Regions from separate parts of the Homo sapiens genome. Here region 2 is linked to region 1. The links are contacts of gene promoters, found by promoter capture Hi-C in blood cells and fetal thymus (Javierre and others, 2016). All regions are on one chromosome and are shown on one strand. The core of a region is centred on a gene start or on the middle of the fragment in contact, and the rest is flanking DNA. Distances in the headings are between cores, read along the strand shown.

Region 1 (7,000 bases), core at 3,451-5,950:
CCAGACAGATGCCACAGGCAGGTAAGACAATAATTGAGGAAATGAGTGAAGCACAGTGAGTAGGGCAGACGCTGTGAGTTTGGGTCTCCAACAGGGTAACTTGTGAAGAAGAGAAAGAAAGAAGAACCTACCCGATCCTGATAGCCCCCAACCTTGGGGAAACATGATATCCACTGAGTGCATGAAGTTTTCCATCAGCACACCTAGACTCAAATCCTAACTCTGCCAATCACTTGTGCACTCTACGTGGATCACCTTTTCTCTCAGCGTCCTGCTTTCTTCATTGATAAAGTAAGCTTGATAGTATTACTATTTACACTGTAACTGGTGGATTAAAACATGTAACATATTATTTATTTTATAGATGGCACATAATAATAGATTTTTTCTTTCCCTGTTCTTTCTTAACACTGATGAAAGAAATCAAAAACAATGTTTTCTTTTAATGCCTTCTTAGTATTGAGTGCTCTTGTCAATTCTGCATTCATGACAAACAACAAAGTCTAACTTAGATACATTAAACACAGAGAAAAGAACACTGTACATACAGGTAGAACCAGCTATGAATCCTATCTCTGCCCCTCACCATTCACTAAATGGATGTCTTCAAGACATCTCTTATCAATACTGATCCGCAGATCACTCCTCATATCATCTCTGCTAAGAGAGAAATTTATAAAATGTTACCAAAGTATGAGTGGGTTTCATGACTAGGCAGTAGAGAATAGGAAACCAGTGAATCAATAAACTCACAACGTGGTGGTTTGCAGACATTCTCTGCATGGCAGCTAAATACACTTCCCTAGAAGCATCCCCATCTGGTCAGAGATGGCCTTTACTACGATGGCCATCCTTGTCCAGCCTTACTTAGGTTTCAGTATTTTTGCACAATTAGCATCCCTGGTGTACGAAGAATGTGATAAATGAGCTCTCTGAGCAGTCATCTACACTCTCTCTGAAGAGTATTTGGATTTTATTTATCCACATTAATAAAGAGAGCCCATTTGTTTGAAAGAAAGAAGTAGGATTTCAAACGCATTTTCCATAAGTTTTAGATGTTCTCAATTGTCTGGCAATAGGAGAAATGTAAAGGAAAATAACAGTTATATGTAAACAAAATCGAGAAAGTTGCATCATAGGGAATATAGCTAACATCTACATAAAGGGTTTATATATACTTTTAAGAGGGGCGTATAAAAGCATAATTCATAAGAACAATAAAAACTACAATTAATGCCATAAAATGAAATCTAAATAGAATTAAGAACAGCAAGTGAAGCAAATGGAAAGGCATTATAGCCCACTAGTACTCAAAAACTATTAAACAATTATTCTTGAAATTTTAGATTATTAAATAAGCAGTAAGACAATATAGCCTATGAAATAAAGTATTAATTTTATATGCTTTGTGCCATTATATCCATTCCCTGAAATCAATCCTAAATAAAAGTTTGTAAAAAGGTTACAAAATTATATCCGATAATACAAACACACATTTTTCTCCAGGTACTACCTTCTTGCTCTTCTTCCACTCACAGATAAACTTCTAAAAGAAGTTTCCATCCACTGTGTCTCCAACCTCTCCTGCTATTTACTCTAGTCAATATATTCCAATCTGGATTTTGCCAAATTAATTCTGGCAAACCAGTCCTTTCTTTTCCTAAATGTAAAACGTCATGTTTTAAACACATTTCTTCCCTTAAACACCCTCTTATCACAATTTTCTCCTGGTTGTCCTCCTATTTTGCTCCTGGATGTCCTCCTATCATTTCATTCACATGCCCTTTTCAGGTTCCTCACTCTGTTCACTACATTAAGATGTAAAGGTCCTCAAGATCCAGGTTTTGGTCTTCTGATTCACTACTCAATTTCTACCAGACCTCATCCATCCTTGGGCCTTCAGGAAAAAGGTATAGCCCAGCTCCCAAATGAACATCTCTAGCCATGCACTCTAAATCCCAGAACTGTGTATCCAATTTTCAAGGCTTAAAGTCTTCCAGTTTCTGATGACAAAAACCACTTTTCTTTTGCCTATGGTTTGAGTTTATGATAGAGTTGAAATTAATTAATTGGTTAATAGTTTTATTTCTCCCTCAGCAAAAAGTTTCAAGAGGGCTGAAGCTGTGTTTCCTTTATTCACTTTTCTATCCTGAAAAGTCACATATCAAGTGTTTCATACAGTGTGAATGGAATGAATGAACTGAACTTCACTTGAGGTTGCAAAACCAACCTTGGCATTGATTTATTGAGTAAGGCCAGGTATGGTGGCTCATGCCAGTAATCCCAGCAGTGTGGGAGGCTGAGGTGGGAGGATTGTTGAGGCTAGGAGTTTGAGGCTGTAGTGAGCTATGAACCTGCCACTGCACTCCAGCTTAGTGACAGAGCAAGACCTTGTGTTTGTTTTTTTTAAATAAACAAATGCAAAATGATCTGAAAGTAAAACTCGAAATAATAAAGAGAATAATTTTCAAAATATAAAGTGAGGGGCCAGGCATGGTGGCTCACGCCTGTAATCCCAGCACTTTGGGAGGCTGAGGCAGGCGGATCACAAGGTCAGGAGTTTGAGAGCAGACTGGCCAGCATGGTGAAACTCTATCTCTACTAAAAATACAAAAAATTAGCTGGGCATGGTGGCGCGCACCTGTAGTCCCAGCTACTCGGGACGCTAAGGCAGGAGAATTGCTTGACCCTGGGAGGCGGAGGTTGCAGTGAGCCGAGATCGCACCACTGTACTCCAGCCTGGGTGACAGAGCGAGACTCCGTCAAAACAAAACAAAACAAAACAAACAAACAAAATATACATAAAGTGAACACTTTTTAATGTAATTAGCACAGTGTTAAAAGTGAACATTTCATACAAGCAAAAATACTGAATACAATAAATGTAGTAGAATCAATAATTAAGTACATGGGTAAATTAATAATATCATCCATGGTGAGCTAATGCCCCTAAGAACTGGATGCTTTATCATACAGTTGCTTGACATTACCAACAAGTATTGTGACAAATTTGATTCAATCATTTCATTATGCAGGCAGAAAAGATAGTCTTTTAAAATAACTAAACATATGGGAATATAATGAAGAGTGTCTATAGTAATCATTTCATGAAGACACAAGTCTGTTCCTAAGCTATTAATCTTACTTGCAAGTTTGATGAAAAAAAGAAGGATCTCATGATTTCTTGCTCCAACTTCCCATGTACAGAGGCTCTCTTCTTTCTTTTCCAGATAGAGACTGATTCCTTGGAAGTAGCTCTTCACAGCATTAGGGAGTTGTCATGGCCTGAGAGAGCCCTTCCACCCCTAACTCATTCAACAAGCAGGGCTCCAGGACTTCCCAATGCTGATAAAAATTCAGTGAATAATTTCTCCAGGCCAGTTTCATTCCAACCAACCTCTTGTGTTGAATAAGGTGACAATCTGCTGGAGCACCTTGTGGAGGACAGTGGTAGTCTAAGCCTTCTGAATTTTGCTGCCATCCCTTGGAAACAATAGAAAACATTCAAAACAGATGAACTGCCCATCAACAGGGCACTGGTTAAATAACTTATGATGTAACAACTCAGAAGGCAACAACAGAATTGTTTAAAAATATAAATAAGCCCTCTACACTAATTCAGGAAGATCTTGAAGTGAAAAAAAAAGATGCAGAACAGTGTACATGGTATGCTATCTTTTACATAAAAACGAGGCGAGTGTAAGAAAAACATGACTACATTCTTACTTTGCATATGCATAAAGAACTAGAAGGATTTAAAAGACAGAAACTTCAAAATTTGGAAAATGGAAGAAATTGTGTCAAAGTATACATTTATTTGTATGTCAAAATTTAAATTTACCACTAATTAAAGAAATGCAAGTTAATAAAATACTCACAAAGGGAAAAGTCAGAAGAAGGGAAAGACACAAACATTGTTGGTGATAATATTTTGGAAATATTGTCTTGGATCAGTATTTTACTAAATATTATCCATAACAGGGCTAAAATTTTGCTACCAGATTGTATAAGTTTACTACCGAGTCTATAAAACAATGGAGGATAAGAAGGTACACATTCAGGAACAAACCAATGGGCAAAGGAAACTATAGTATGTATAGTTATTGGAAAATTATGTAGCCATTTTTAAAATTGTGGAAAACAAAGGCATTTCAAGCCAAAAATTTAGAATATATCATTTACATAATAAAGTAACAATCTAGTAAAGACAAATATTTTGCGTTTGAAATTGTAACAAATTTGAAAATATGAACCAAAATTGTAACTGAAGTATCTACTACATAATGTGGGATAACAATTATTGTTTTGTAGAGGAAAAAAAAAATTAAGCATCCAGGTTTCCTCTCAATTTATACAAATGCCGCATTTCACTGTTATTCAAAAAAACAGAAGCTAGGAAGCGTAAAGCTTTGAAAAATTATGCATTTGGGGAACGTAAGAGCTCAGATATGCGAAAAACTTATATCAAACGTGCAGCATAACACACTTGCTTGCACACATTCTGTCCTATTTGGTCCCACATACAAGGCAGCTCTAAGAGGCCGGGCTGGCGCCCACCCCACACAGCTCCGCTTCCCCAACCCTCGCCCTCCCGCCTCCCGGGTACTTCCTCCCCCTTCCCCACCCCCACCCTCCCGCTGACTGACGAGGTCTGGAGGCCGCGCAGCCGCAGTAGCCGCTAAGGCCGCTCCCACCCCGTGGTATCCTGGGACTAGGCTTTTCCGGAAGGAGCGGCTCGGTGTTGGGGCTAGGCCGGTATTCTAGGCCCAAGCCCAGGCCCAGGCCTGTGTTCCCGGCCCTTGCTCAAAGACAGGCCGGTGGCCGCTGCGACACTCTAGGTACAGCGGAGGGCGCAGCGGGCCGTTCGCTGAGGTGTCCGGACCCGCCGCCGAGCGGGCCGTGGAGCCACAGTACGTGGCGGCGCCTCTTCCTTGCCCGAAGCGGAACTGCTGAAGGAGCGGCAGCGCAGGCCGGACGAGGTGAACCAGGTCATTTAACCGCCTTCAGGTGATGAATCATCTGTCTAATAATCAGATTTGAGGTCCACAGCCCTTTGTGGTCCTGCTACAGGGTGATTTTCAGTGGATGACTGACTGGCGTGGCCCGAGGGGTGCCGCAGTGACTGCCTTCCCTTGATAAGGAAACGAGCTTTCTGTTCTTTCTGGACACCTCGTTACCTGTAAAACATTCCGGTTATAACTTCTTTATCCGGCTTGCATCTCTGTGCAAGAGGAAAGCTTTCACATGAAAGTGTCCCTTGGTAACGGCGAAATGGGCGTCTCTGCCCATTTGCAGCCTTGTAAGGCAGGAACCACACGCTTTTTTACCAGCAATACTCACAGTTCGGTGGTATTGCAAGGCTTTGATCAGCTTAGAATAGAAGGATTGCTTTGTGATGTGACCCTGGTACCAGGTGATGGAGATGAAATCTTCCCTGTTCACAGAGCTATGATGGCGTCTGCTAGTGATTATTTCAAAGCCATGTTCACAGGTGGAATGAAAGAACAAGATTTGATGTGCATTAAGCTTCATGGGGTGAACAAGGTTGGTCTGAAGAAAATCATTGATTTTATTTATACTGCAAAACTTTCTCTTAATATGGACAATCTTCAGGACACACTTGAAGCTGCTAGCTTTTTACAAATATTACCCGTTTTGGATTTCTGTAAAGTATTTCTTATATCAGGAGTCTCTTTGGATAACTGTGTTGAGGTTGGACGAATTGCTAACACCTACAATCTTATAGAAGTGGATAAATATGTTAATAATTTCATCCTGAAGAACTTTCCTGCTTTATTGAGTACTGGGGAGTTTCTAAAACTCCCTTTTGAACGACTTGCATTTGTGCTTTCCAGTAATAGTCTTAAGCACTGTACCGAACTTGAACTCTTTAAGGCAGCCTGTCGCTGGCTAAGGTTGGAAGACCCTCGGATGGATTATGCTGCAAAGTTAATGAAGAATATTCGATTTCCACTGATGACACCACAGGATCTCATCAATTACGTGCAGACAGTAGATTTCATGAGAACAGACAATACCTGCGTGAATTTGCTTTTGGAAGCTAGCAATTACCAAATGATGCCATATATGCAGCCAGTGATGCAGTCAGATAGAACTGCCATTCGATCTGACTCCACTCACTTGGTTACATTAGGAGGAGTTTTGAGGCAGCAGCTGGTTGTCAGTAAAGAATTACGGATGTATGATGAAAGGGCACAAGAATGGAGATCTTTAGCCCCAATGGATGCTCCCCGTTACCAGCATGGTATTGCTGTCATTGGAAACTTTCTTTATGTAGTTGGTGGTCAGAGTAATTATGATACAAAAGGAAAAACTGCTGTTGATACAGTTTTCAGATTTGATCCTCGGTATAATAAATGGATGCAGGTTGCATCATTAAATGAAAAGCGCACATTCTTTCACTTGAGTGCCCTCAAAGGACATTTGTATGCAGTTGGTGGGCGCAGTGCAGCTGGTGAACTGGCCACAGTAGAATGTTACAACCCAAGAATGAATGAGTGGAGCTATGTTGCAAAAATGAGTGAACCCCACTATGGTCATGCTGGAACAGTATATGGAGGCTTAATGTATATTTCAGGAGGAATTACCCATGACACTTTCCAAAATGAGCTCATGTGTTTTGACCCAGATACAGATAAATGGATGCAAAAGGCTCCAATGACTACAGTCAGAGGTCTGCATTGCATGTGTACAGTTGGAGATAAGCTCTATGTCATTGGTGGCAATCACTTCAGAGGAACAAGTGATTATGATGATGTTCTAAGCTGTGAATACTATTCACCAACCCTTGACCAGTGGACCCCAATTGCCGCCATGTTAAGAGGCCAAAGTGATGTTGGAGTTGCCGTCTTTGAAAATAAAATCTATGTTGTTGGTGGATATTCTTGGAATAATCGTTGTATGGTAGAAATTGTCCAGAAATATGACCCAGAAAAAGATGAGTGGCATAAAGTTTTTGATCTTCCAGAGTCACTTGGTG
Region 2 (6,224 bases), core at 2,797-5,296, 650 kb before region 1:
GACGATTGGGATTTCACTGGCCGCGGTGGGGGTGGGAGCAGACAGAGTCTGAGTGGGGTTAGTGGACTCGAGACGAAAGGCAGGACATGACAGAAGGCAACTCTGGGTCACCTCTCCAGCTTGGAACTGGCTAGGCCTTGTTTTGGAGGGGATGGGTAGATGAAAAGTGAGTCAGGGTTACCCGGAGGAACCACGGGGAAAGTGCGCTTCTGAGACTCTTGACAGCCATTTCGTTCCCTTCCAAGCCAGATGGAGACCCAAGAGTGTTGAAAGGCCACGACTTCCCTCAGTTTCTCCATCTGGGGGTGCAGGATGGTATAGAGAGTGGCCCGTAGTATTTTTCCAGTGACGATGTCTCTCCATTGTTTTCTTCTTATATTGCAGCTTTCCCCATGTTTGAAAATTTTCTTTTCAAATGAAATCATTGATTAGAATAAAAAAAAGTAAGTAGCTATTAAAACAAGATCAATTTCCATGACAGTAAGCCAACCGATGGAGAAAACCTTGGGAATTAATAAATGAAGGATTTGTTTGGTAGATGATAAAAGGTCCTTTTAAAGGGTCTGACTCTTCCTAGAAAAACCCACCAACTTGGGACCGCAACAGATTTACCATATCCTAATTCATGCTATTTTAATGTGTATTCAGCAAACCCACATGTGTTTACAATTGTCGAAGCTACCAAATGTCAATAGCGTTTTTTTTCTATTTGTTGAATGTGAATCTCTTGTACGAAGCCATATAAACAGAAGAAATTACAGGAATGATTTTAAATCACATACAAAACCAATAGTATTGCTAGAGGAGAGTTAGTCAAGGACGGCATTATGAAGAAAGTGAGGGAGAATTTCCAAAGAGCAGAACGATAGGGCTTGGTGGACCAAAGAACGTTTCCATCTAAAGGGAATGGCAAATACTTAGAGTCTCTGAACCCACTGAATCTTGGACTATTTAACTAATATTTGTAGTTCCAGATATAGCACAGTGCCTTGTACATAGTGGTATTTTTAAAAATATAGTGCCTCGTAGATTTTTTTTCAACTTTTATTTAGGAGGAGAGGGCACATGTGCAGGTTAATTACAAAGGTATATTGCACCATGCTGAGGTTTCGAGTACGACTGAATCTGTCACTCAAGTAGTGAGCACAGTACCCACAGTAGGTAGTATTTCAGCCCTCGCTCATTCCCTTTCTCCTCCATCTAGTAGTCCCCAATGTCTATTGTTCTCATATTTATGTCCAATTAGCATTTGTTTTTTAAAAAGGGTGGTTGAAGAAATTCTCAGTGCTTGTCAGTGTCTCTCAGTGCATTCATTTAATTCATGAGCCCTGGAATGATGGTTTCATTTGGGCAGAACTCTACAATCAAAAAGAAGTAATAAAAGGGAAAAAAAAGTGAAAGCCATCAACTACAGGATTGAAATTCCCAAAGCATCAGAGGTCCTTTCAAAAAATAGTATGTTGATTTTTAATTTTTATGACTTATTGGCTTTGTTCATGAAAATATAAACATGTTATCACAAAGGATTTTTTAATTCAACTATTTCTCAGTTTTCTCTTTCACCTTCAAAATAAAATATCATAAATTATTTAAATGGTTGTGAAGGCAGTAGGATTTTTTTAAGAGAGAAAAGTTTTATAGAGGTTCAGAATTACATGAACAAAGACATGTAATCTCTTAAGCAAATTGAAACTAATAAAATCGTACAATCAAGGTAACGTAAATAAAAAAGCCTCTGCTTTCTTAATTGAATTATGTGAGTAACTAGAAATTTTAAAAGTATGGCAAAGGTTAACAACAGCATTATTACCTGGGCTGCCTTTAAAAATACATATTTCTGGGGTTCACGTTCAGAAAATTTGATTCAGATTTGCTGTGGGTCCCAGAAATCTGCATTTTAAATAAACACTTGAAGGAGATACTAATACAAGTGGCCCATTGGGACACAATTTGACAAATATGACCAATTTTACTTTTTAAACCTTATTTCTGCTTCTTTATCTTTGAATTGAGGTCCAGGATTTTAGGTAAGATTTTAAGTTTAGAGTCAGTTTACTGGATCCCAGGGAGGAGAGTCTGAGTAATCAGTGGAGGAGTTATTTCACCAAATGAAGGAGACCCTTTATTATTATGTGACCCTTTGTATGAATTGGAAAAGAATGTCTTGTAGATACCACATTTTTACAGTCAGAACATAGTTTGAGAGAAAAAAATATAACAAGATATATTTGTGTTTTAAAGCTTACAGAACCAGACAGAAAATTTCCACATAAGCTATATAAGATACGTTGTCTTTTTAAAACACTATATACACTTCTTTCTGTTCGTGCAGGATGAATGGATCTCTCTCTCTCTCTCTCTCTCTCTGTGTGTGTGTGTGTGTGTGTGTGTGTGTGTGTGTGTTGTAATAAGGGGTTTCTTTCATTTTATGATCCAGACCAGGCTCGTAATAAACATGACAACCTAAAATTATGTAAAAAAGAAAAATCAAAGCACAAGTGTTTCACAGGTTTAACTTATGCTTATCTAAGATCAGGGCAAGATTGCAGGAAAATGTAGCCATAACAGAATAAAGCATTTATGGACAAAATGATGGGTCTTTATGTCTCTGTAAAAGCACAGTGATGGGGGGGGAAATATAGATGAAAAATGTAAGCTAAAAAGTAACAATTATAAGAAAAACTAAAATATCATGCCTTTCAAATGATCATTTTTCTGCTTTTAAGCTAAAATTTGTCTAATATTACACCAGTGACTTTGCTGATGTATTAGGAAAAAGCTTGTTTTGCTTTCTTTTCTCGAGTGCCACCATTTTCTTGCTCTCATTCTCTTTCAGGCTGCCAGATCATCTGACTCAGCAATTGTATAACTCTCTCACCCAATTTAAAGAAACAGCAGCTGTCTAGAGAACAATGACTCCCCCAGTTGAACATCTAATTGTTAAATGTCCAACATCGGACACTTTGAATTTTACTCCATGCAATTTACATGCTGAATAGTTGAAGTTGAATATATTATATTTAACATTTAATTTTTAAAAGCTTATTGAAACTTTCTTCCTAAATCACATGGTAAAGTTATTGTTTTCTTCAAAAACAATTAGGAGGAGCTTAACAATAATAGGACACTTCAACTTCCATTATCTAATTTAATTATCACAATATCCTTATGTTTTCAATGTTTCATTTTTTCATTTTGTAGATCTGGAGACTGAGGCTCAGATAGGTTGCATGGCCTACCAAAAGTCATTGACTAGTAATTCATATATAGTTGAACTTGGTTGCCCATGGAGTGCTATAAATATGTATATGGTTTCAGTTCCATCTCTTTTAGTTAACTATTATTTTGAAAGTCGCTTAACCCCTTTGGGCCTCTACTATACTCAAGCATCAGCCGTATAAGTCACAGTAAATATTTATTGGTTGAAAGGAGGTTAACATCTTTCAAAAATTTATTTTTTGACCAAAATAAAACCAGTGAAAAATTCTCATATGACTGTACATATAAATTACTTATTCCTACCTTAATTTAAAAGCAATAAGTGGGATACCTATTCACCAGCACAGGAACCACTTGAAGCGTGCAGTTGAAAGATTACTTTCTTTAGCATTCACATGACCTGTGAGCAGATTCTATTTCTTTTGCTTATTAGCTGTCATGGTACCAGAATGAAGTATGAGAAACTCTCAGTGCTTTCATGTTCTCATCTGTAAACCTGAGACCCTATGGTAGTCCCGTAATAAGAGGTAGATAAAATAGTATGTGTGAAGAGTCACTGTAAACTTTTACACAGTGTACGTTTGTCAGTTATTATAGTGCCTAATTAAACTATGCCCTTAAGAAAGCACATTAGTTTTTTACAGTAAATACCTACTTCATTATAATTTTTCAGTGTAGCTAGAAATTTCTAAACTCCACTTTAAAAATATACATATCATAATAAAAATATATTTATGTATTCAGACTCCTGGTATGTTCCAAGGTGTTAGGTAAAATCAGTGTAAATTTGCATACTTTTAAATTCACATCTGTACAGAAGATCTATATGGTGGCCTTTAGGGTATACCTCTAAGCTATTCTAGTATTCATAATCATTAAAGAGATATTAAGCAGTGTTTGTGAACCCCTGTTTTCTAAGACAGGAAATCAAGGTAGCTTTAGAAAACTGGAAAAAAAGTTATTAGTCTATCTATCTAATAACCCAGAATAATAATTTCCAAAGGAATCACTGAAGATAACTGGATTTTTAATTCCTTCAGAATGGTTGTCACAGTCTGAATATCTGAATCAACAGTTTTGACCAAAACAATTTTCTAAAAATTCTTTAGTATAAAAAATTATGTGTGTGTGTGTCTGTGTGATGAAAGGAATGATAGGCAGAAACATTACTGTCATCCTTACGACATTCAAAATGCCTACCTTGGAGGGTGACCTTCAGTTATTTTTATGCAAATGTGAAGAAGTTATTTAGAAGTAGGATATCAAAGAGTAACACAAAATACACTAAATAGTATGCTTTCTTAAGGCTAAATTGACTTGGGGGTTTTAAATCAGTACAGAGTAAACATACAGTATATTCTGTTATCATTGCCTTTTTGAAAAATTAATTATGGAAGTTATCATCTTAACCGTAACAACACAAAAGATAAAACTCTACCCTCAACCCAGAGACTCAAAGGAAAACATGAGTGGAAATGTTAAATCTGTATGTGAAAAGTGCTAAAACATGAATAGGAAGCAGTTACTTATTTAATCAAAGTTGATTATATTTCATCAAGAAGTTGATTCCCTTGAGTGGAGTTGAATCACATATCAGGTGAAGAATGTGATTTGGGGAAGAATGGTCTAACACAAGAAAATTTTCTTGCAATCTTTAATAATATCAGAGGGGAGATTGGCTTCAGAACTCTCCTAAGTTCAGGAAAGGACACAGAAAATTGAACATAACAGTAAGACTATAGAGTCCCAAGAAAGCAAGCTACTTTTAAAGGATAGTTTTTTAGAGGGGCAAAAGGGGGACAACCATTCTCCATTTGATGAGAAAAGCTTCCATGTAGATGGTGCCCCTGAAATTAGAGTATCCTAAACCAGTGTTAAACCTATCAGTGAAACATGAATATTAAACCTCCACTCCCAGTAGTGAAAACCGAATACATTATTATTTATCTGTGACTTTCAACATTATCTCAGAACTCTAACAGCACATGCGTACATCAGCAGCATAAGCAGAAATGAGATATTATATATGCTTGTGTTAGCAATTAAAAAGGACAGCATATTTGAGAGGGGAAAATCTGTCCTATCAAGAATGAAAAAGAGGGAGGTTAGGAAAAGTAGTTTAGAGAAAGTAAATTTTGCAATTCCTCAGTTTTAACTGTAGTTTCTCCATTGTACCTTCCACTTGAAATGCACTCCAAGCAGTGGAGGTGGGTAGCAATGAATGCAGAGGAAACACTGAACACAGTGACACTCTCCAGTGTCACTTCTCATGATTTAATGAGGGGTTTTTTTTGGAAATTCTTCTGTCATAACATGGGAAACTTTGTTACAAAGAAGCTGTTTTTTCAGAGGGTTAGAATTCAGAGGTAGCATCATACCTTTTAGAAGAGAATTTGCTTGTTGAAACCACAGATACCTGCTAGAATGTACAGGAATTAATGAAAAATTACTCAAAAGGACATTTATTTTGATGACCTAAATGAATAACTTCATAGTAAATGTCATATATATTCTCAAAAAATTAAAAAGCACCATTTATTGAGAGCCTACCGTGCACCCGGATTTTTATATATCTGACATTCTTTATTCCTCACAGTAACCTTATGGGGTAAATTTTATTTTCCCCACTTTGTGAGGTGAGGAAATAAAGGCTCAGAAAGTTTACATAACTTATTCAAGCCCACAGAGCTGGTAAATGAGAGGTCAGTTCTATCTGAGTTTAAAGACTAGGCTTGTCCCACTTGCATATGTGTCATTTCCAAAATTATGATTAAGGATATGGTTGGCATTTCCCGCCACCCACATTAAGTCCAATTAAGTAGCTGTGGCCATAGAAAGAATGGAGAATGGAGAGAGGAACTGACTTCAACAGCTACAGCAAACATTTATTAGCTGAGTAACCATAGCTACATAGTTCCTCAATATGTACCACTCCTCCATTTTGTTATCTATAAATCAAAATGGTGGCTTTTTAAAAAGCAGTTTTACAATATATTCAAGAGCCT

What was found. Contacts are between HindIII fragments. The CHiCAGO score rates a contact against its expected background, and 5 or more counts as called.
Region 2: a contact is called between a fragment that was not itself captured here and the fragment with the promoter of KLHL9 in region 1, in 1 of 17 cell types (activated CD4 T cells). The highest score is 5.1, in activated CD4 T cells.

Annotation. Positions count from the first base shown.
Region 1 is chr9:21,333,104-21,340,103 of GRCh38, reverse strand. KLHL9 (kelch like family member 9) reads left to right here and starts at 4,700. Exons shown (of 1, transcript NM_018847.4): 1 at 4,700-7,000. The coding sequence starts at 5,245. It overlaps LOC107987053 (a long non-coding RNA gene), which reads right to left. Exons shown (of 3, transcript XR_001746634.2): 3 at 2,803-3,483. RefSeq lists a silencer at 4,511-4,680 and enhancers at 4,721-5,030, 5,221-5,270. The HindIII fragment of the contact is 830 bases long and covers 4,410-5,239 here.
Region 2 is chr9:21,983,576-21,989,799 of GRCh38, reverse strand. It overlaps LOC124902130 (a long non-coding RNA gene), which reads left to right. Exons shown (of 2, transcript XR_007061436.1): 2 at 1-6,224. It also overlaps a transcript of CDKN2A not described here. Among named protein-coding and RNA genes, the nearest start is that of CDKN2B-AS1, 8.1 kb to the left of the region's middle. RefSeq lists a cis regulatory region at 322 and enhancers at 1-344, 250-394. The HindIII fragment of the contact is 2,005 bases long and covers 3,044-5,048 here.